Regions from separate parts of the Homo sapiens genome. Here region 2 is linked to region 1. Evidence: promoter capture Hi-C in human tissues and cell types (Jung and others, 2019). All regions are on one chromosome and are shown on one strand. Each heading gives the region's core, a stretch centred on a gene start or on the middle of the fragment in contact. The rest is flanking DNA. Distances are from core to core; before and after follow the strand shown.

Region 1 (3,515 bases), core at 427-2,926:
CTAAGACATGAAAATGCTTTCCTATATAGCTAATGTTAAGAAAGGTGCCTCACGCCTATAATCCCAGCACTTTGGGAGGCCGAGGTGGGTGGATGACTTGAAGTCAGGAGTTCGAGACCAGTCTGGTCAACATGGTGAAACCCCATCTTTACTAAAAATACAAAAATTAGCCGGCTGTGGTGGCGGGCGCCTGTAGTCCCAGCTACTCGGGAAGCTGAAGCATGAGAATTGCTCAAACCTAGGAGGCCGAGGTTTCAGTGAGCCGAGATCGCGCCACTGCACTCCAACCTGGACTACAGAACGAGGTTGTGTCTCAAAAAGAAAAGAAAAAAGAAGGATCCCTGGAGAGATGGAGGTGGGAGCAAGAAAAAAGGAAAAAAAAAAAGACTGTGAAGAAACAGTTTAACATATTGCTTCCATTTCCATCTTTATCCCAAGAGAATTTAAACGGGAAAGAAAAAAAATGGAGGCAGAACCCATAATTCAAAATAACCATAAAAAAAAAAGCAAAAGATTTTAGATTTTGCAAACTGTGCCTTTTAACCTGCTATCCTTTCAAGTAATTTTTAAAGAAGGATTTTTTTAATCCACAGAATATTTTGCTTCATCCAGGAGCAGCTGGATCTCATACCATCCGGTATCCCCCGCCTCCATACACACGCCCCTACCACTATCAGCCCTTGAGCCAAACGATCCATCACGGTAAAAAAAAAAAAAAAAAAAAAAAATTAAACCAGGAGGTTCATCTTCCCAATTCTCTCTAAGAAACAGTCATAGTCTGTCCTCCTCCCACCCCCAGGAAAACTGCCTATTCTAACAGAACTAGGAGGGAGGGGGGAATCAGCTCATCATCCTTCTCCATAGGGAAAAAAATGGCATTAACTTCCAACAAGAAACTGCTGCTCTTCTACCGTATCCCCTTTAGAACATAAAATATTAAGAAAGGGTTTCTGAAGCATTCACAGGAACAGAAAACTGAAGCCTGAAGCACTTCACTCTGCAGCAAGATAACCCCTTAAAAATCATCCAGAATTTGGGGGATGGAGGTAACCCGTCAACACCCGCGACACCCCTACCCTAAGGTGGGGAGCAGGATTCCGTCAAACAGAAAATGCCACTCTCCGCCCCCTCCGCCATCCGGAACGCTGACCGGCGCGGAGTGCGGGGGCGGCCGAGGGCGGGAGCGGCGAGGAGGCGGGACGCGACACACGCACCACGCCGAGAACTGCTTCACCGCTTTTTTAAAGGTTTTTAAAATGCAGTTTCTCCAGCCGGAGAATTCCCACCCATTCACCAGCCCCAGCCCTCACCCAGCTCCCCACCCCCATCGGGGGCTCCGCTGGGCCGTGTCCCCGAGGCGGCCTCGGCCCCACGCCCCGAGGCGCGCGGCCCCCGGCGGGGGGGTCCCCGACGCGGCCCAGCTGGGGATGCTTCGCACCTGTATGTAGTTGTTCTCGCAGTAATCGGCCACCCGTTCCAGATTTGTGTAGCTGTCGAAGAGGGCCCGGCGGCCCCCCGGGATTTCCTCTTCCAGCAGCATCTGCAGCTCCGCCATCTTCACATCCTCCTCCTCCTCCTCCTCATACAGGTCGCAGAGGGAGCGGCGGCCGCAGCGCCAAGGAAACCCAGGACCGGGAGAGGAGGAGCGGCGGCGACGGCGGCGGTAACTCGGAAGGAGCGAGAAACAGCCCCAGCGCGCGACAGGGGAGGGGGCGACGGGGGCGGGGCGCGAGCCGACGGACTCCGAGGACGGTCACCGCGGCGACGGCCGGCCGGGCGCGCGCACGCGCGCTCCCTTCCCTCCGCCCCCGGGAGCCCGAAAAAGATTCCCACCCTCGCCCGCGCCGCCGGCCCCTCCCCCACTTCCGGCGTCTCCTAGCGACGGCGGGGGTAGGGGCCGGGATGCGCGCGGGAGTTGGTGGTGCAGTTAACCCTTCCGCCGCCCGCCCGCCGCTGGAGCGGCTGGAGAAGCCCCCACCTCCCGGCGGCCTTTGTTAGCCCGGCGGGAACACACCACCCTGCTCAGCTGGCTTCCTGCCGGCTCCCTCCGGGACTCATCTCGGCTCCGTCCCCATGGAGGTCATCGGCCTAGGGAACTTCTCGAGGCTTTTCTCCCTCTGCTGCTGACGGGAGGCCGAAGGAGGGCACAGCCTCCACTCTTGGGACCCTCCTCTGTGAAAGATCACACCTCAACAGGGCAGGAATAAAACTTCCACGCAGCTTTCAATGCCACCTGACTTCATTTTTCTCAGATTTGACCTCATCCTCTTTGTTGCAGTGAATTGCAGTTTCCTAACCCCAGCTTTCCTGCGCCCCTGCCTCTTTGCACTTCCCCACTAACGCTGTTCTCCCCTGCCAGATTAGCCCCTTTCTCTCCTGGTTTGCGGTGCCGTGGGCCTCAGCTTTTTATGTTTGCCATTTCTATGATTCGCTTCCTCACTCATAACCTTTTCTGTCATTTCTCTAATGCTATCAACTTCGCTGTCCTTTTTCCTATTCATGGATTCAGTATTTAAAATTTTGAAAACGATTTTGCTAGTAGTAATTGCCTTCTTCACAGGGCTGTTACATAGATAAAATCAACGTTTATTGTGAAAATACCTTGAAAAAACATTAAGTGCTACAAAAATTCAAGGCAGATAATTTTCCTCTTGCAGAGTTATAATTCTGTTTTTATTCTCCAGATACTGTGTCTTGTTTTCCTAAATCAGACTACCCCACACAATGTAATCTGGAAAAACTAAAACTCCTGACCATTGCTGAGATATGAAGCCATGACCTTTATTTGTGCTGTGGAAAATCAAAGTTGATTCCAGGCAGTACCATCTTAGACTTGTGTAGTTAGAACAAGATCCATTGTTTCAACACTTTTCTTAATCTGGTGATCTCTTGGCCCTCCTACAGTGAATTTTTTTCATTCAGATGATGAGGAAACTTATACTTTCAAAAAAAAATCACTTTAGGACGGGCGCGGTGGTTCACGCCTGTAATCCCAGCACTTTGGGAGGCCGAGGCGGGCGGATCACGAGGTCAGGAGATCGAGACCATCCTGGCTAACACAGTGAAAACCCGTCTCTACTAAAAATAAAAATAAAAAAATTAGCTGGGCATGGTGGCGGGCGCCTGTAGTCCCAGCTACTCGGGAAGCTGAGGCAGAAGAATGGCGTCATCCTGGGAGAAGAGCTTGCAGTGAGCGGAGATCGTGCCACTGCACTCCAGCCTGGGCGACAGAGCGAGACTCCGTCTCAAAAAAAAAAAAAATCACTTTAATACCATATCATTACAAATATCTGGAGCAAACCCTAATGTTATATTGGCTTCATGATACATACATTAGCAGAATGTATGAGTTTTCACTGTGGAACCTAAATTAAAGGATATTGAAAATGTTGGTCTAGTCCAACTAGTTTTATTCTTAAGCACTTTAACCATCTTCTGTAGTAGTGGTTCTCAAACTTCAGTGTGAGGAGCTTGTTAAAAATGAAAGCTGCAGGGTCACACACACTAAGATTCAT
Region 2 (3,515 bases), core at 276-2,775, 130 kb before region 1:
CCACCTGCCTTGGCCTCCCAAAGTGCTGGGATTACAGGCGTGAACCACCACGCCTGGCCTCATCTTTATATATTTTTTCGATAAAATTACCTTTCATAATTTGGCTTCTTTACATTATTTTTTTCTGAAGTGTTTTAAGAGTTCTTTGAATACAAGATCATTTCCAATTCACTTCAGATTTTATAATGGCTAAAACAAAGTTTTTTTAAAAGGTAACAAAATAGTTTTTTTTTTTTCAAATAAGAACTGGATAGACTGATGCATTTACTAAAAATTATTATGTTAACTTGAATTTGTACTGAAGTCTTTAAACCAGCATTTGACTCGGGAAACAAAGCACATTAACAAATTTCAAAGAATCCATATCTAGAACGTGTTCTTTAACATATGTTCAGTATACAGGACATGTTCTTTCATTTCTAATTTGGAAATTAGAAAATACATATATGTTTAAGATTAAACAACAGTCATGGATCAAAGAAGAAATCATCTTGGAAATGTTTTAAATGCCAAGAACTAAATAGGAAATACTTGATATCGAAACTTATAAGATGTAACTAATGTTTTATTTTTAAGGGTGGGATGGGAAAATGTTTAAGACTGAAGAATGGTGTCCTGCAAGTCAGAAAGCCTAGATTCTAGTCCTAGTTCTTCCATATATCAGCTGTGTGACCTTGGTTATGTCATTAACATAATTAAGGCATATTTCTTTGTTTGAAAAATTAGGGAATACCAGATAATTTTTAGGTGCTAAAATGTCGGTTAAGATTATGTGGTTCTGAGGTTAACTACTTCACAAAGTTTCATGTCTTTCATGCAACTCTAATGAATACTAACAAAATACGGATATTTTATTTTGGGACAGAGAGAATCTTTGAAGACCATGAAAACTTGGTTGAAAATCTTCTTAATTGGACAAGAGATAGCCAAAACAAGCTTATATTTATGGAGCGTATAGAAAAATATGCACTTTTCAAAAACCCACAGGTAAGACCAAACAACTTACAGAGGTCAGGATTTGTAAATATGTCTCCTATTTTATTCGATTACTGCTAAGTTAGAGTTAAAAGACTGGTAAACACCTGGTTGGAGCGATATACCTGCAAAATCCTATAGGAGCATCATCTACTACTGCTGCTGCTGCTGCTGCTGAGGTGGAAAGTCAGCTGGTGCCCACGTGTTAGGCCCTAAAGAGGTTCCCAGTCCTCCAGAACCAGATGGGGTGAGCCGTTTTGGAAGCAGAAGTATAGCTCTAGTGAGTTACCAGGTCTTTTGGCTCTGTAATCCAGAGCTGTGTTGAACCCAGCTGTTTATTTGGTGAGTTTGTCATCTCATCAAAGAAAAGTACTTCTCTACTCCAGCCATTTATCCAGTTGACACTTCTTTTGGAATTACTTTTTAAACATCCCAGTAACCTTGATTACAAATGGCTTTACATTCTAATAAACATACTTTGATTTATTTGACATCTTTCCTTATTCCAAAATAATGTTTGAGTTAATACTTCCCAATACCTAGACATTTTACAAAATTCAGTAGGTGAGGGAAAACAACTCCACAATAAAAAGTAGTAATGAAGAAAAATAGCAGCAGTGTTAAAGATATTGCATAGTTATGCTTCAAATGGCATAACCATGACACATCTTTTCTGGATGTTTTAGTGAAGAATACATATTTGGGGGTATCAACAGATCTTTTTGTAGGCAGTTATGAAAAATAATTACAGGCCAGGCGCAATGGCTCACTCCTGTAATCCCAGCACTTTGGGAGGCTGAGGTGGACTGATCACAAGGTCAGGAGATCGAGACCATCCTGGCTAACACGGTGAAACCCCGTCTCTACTAAAAATACAAAAAATTAGCCCAGCACTTTGGGAGTCTGAGGTGGATGGATCACAGGGTCAGGAGATCGAGACCATCCTGGCTAACACGGTGAAACCCTGTCTCTACTAAAAATACAAAAAATTAGCCGGGCGTGGTGTCGGGCGCCTGTAGTCCCAGCTACTTGGGAGGCTGAGGCAGGAGAATGGTGTGAATCCGGGAGTCGGAGCTTGCACTGAGCCGAGATTGTGCCACTGCACTCCAGCCTGGGTGACAGTGAGACTCCGTCTCCAAAAAAAAAAAGAGAAAAAGAAAAAGAAGTACAGTCAGCCCTCTATATCCATGGGTTCTGCATCTGTGGATTTGCACAACTGCAGATCTAAAATATTCAGAAAAATAATTCCAGGTTCTAAAAAACAAAACTTGAATATGCCACGCTTGAGTACTGCATTGAATTCATGCAAATTAAATGATAGGTAGGCATTGTATTAGGTATTGTAAGTAATCTAGAGATTATTTAAAGTACAAGGGAGAATGTGCATAGGTTATATGCAAATGTGACCCCATTTTTATAAGTGACTTTAAGCATCAGCAGATTTTGGTATACAGGGGAGATCCTAGAATCAATCTCCTATGGACAACAAGGGATGACTGTGTACTAATGAGTAGACTTCAGTTTGATTTTTTTGTTTGTTTGTTTTTTGTTTTTTTTTGAGATGGAGTCTCGCTCTGTTGCCCAGGCTGGAGTCAGTGGCGTGATCTTGGCTCACTGCAACCTCCGCCTCCAAGCGATTCTCCTACCTCAGCCTCCTGCATAGCTGGGACTACAGGTGCGTGCTGCCACACCTGGCTAATTTTGTATTTTTAGTAGAGACGGGGTTTCACCGTGTTGGTCAGGCTGGTCTTGAACTTCTGACCTCGTGATCCACCCGCCTTGGCCTCCCAGAGTGCTGGGATTACAGGTGTGAGCCACTGCACCCAGCCAGAATTCAGATTTTTAGTTGAGTCAAGTAAATGAGATTATTAATAAATGAGTCCCAGAGAATATGGGATTTCTTCTTAAAAAGCCAGAACATAAATTTTCTGCACCTAGATCAGTATATTTTAAGGAAATTTGCCTTACTTGTTGTACTTATGAATTTCTAAACCTTTCAGATCCTCTAACGTAGCTTTCATTAGATATCCCAAAACATATTTGCCAGCTGTTGAATGTAATACCACCTCACAGTCTGGGTAAGGACAGTTTATGACAAGTGGACAGGCAAGGAGGAGACTGGTGTTAAGCATTTTAGTGATGATGCCCATACACAGGTAACTTTTCAAAGTTTATTCTACTCTATACCAACAGAAATCAGAGTTGCTATTTCTCTAGAAGAAAACATACACACACCTGTGCCAAGGGAATAACAGAATGGATTTATGCTTTAACCTTCTTTTTTTCTCTCCCACCCATCCCTTCCATATGTTTGTTTTTCCAGAATTATCTTTTGGGGAAAAAAGAAACAGCTGAGATGGCAGATAGAAACAAAGAAGTCCTCTTGGAGGTATGACAACCCCCATTTTCCTGCACATTTAAAAATTAAAATATTAGGCCAGGCATGGTGGCTCACGCCTGCAATCCCAACACTTCGGGAGGCTGAGGTGAGTGAATCACAAGATCAGGAGTTCAAGACCAGCCTGCCCAAGATGGTGAAA

Evidence for each region. Contacts are between HindIII fragments. The study calls those that stand out against the background at their distance.
Region 2: a fragment that was not itself captured here is called in contact with the fragment with the promoter of ABI2 in region 1 in 1 of the 25 tissues and cell types used here (stomach).

The regions. Positions count from the first base shown.
Region 1 is chr2:203,326,555-203,330,069 of GRCh38, reverse strand. ABI2 (abl interactor 2) reads right to left here and starts at 1,676. Exons shown (of 12, transcript NM_001375670.1): 1 at 1,439-1,676. The coding sequence starts at 1,555. RefSeq lists silencers at 1,108-1,457, 1,734-1,921, 1,678-2,017 and an enhancer at 1,819-2,789. The HindIII fragment of the contact is 25,150 bases long and covers 1-3,515 here.
Region 2 is chr2:203,457,379-203,460,893 of GRCh38, reverse strand. It overlaps RAPH1 (Ras association (RalGDS/AF-6) and pleckstrin homology domains 1), which reads left to right. Exons shown (of 14, transcript NM_213589.3): 7 at 866-987; 8 at 3,299-3,364. Among named protein-coding and RNA genes, the nearest start is that of RAPH1, 76 kb to the left of the region's middle. The HindIII fragment of the contact is 4,574 bases long and covers 1-3,515 here.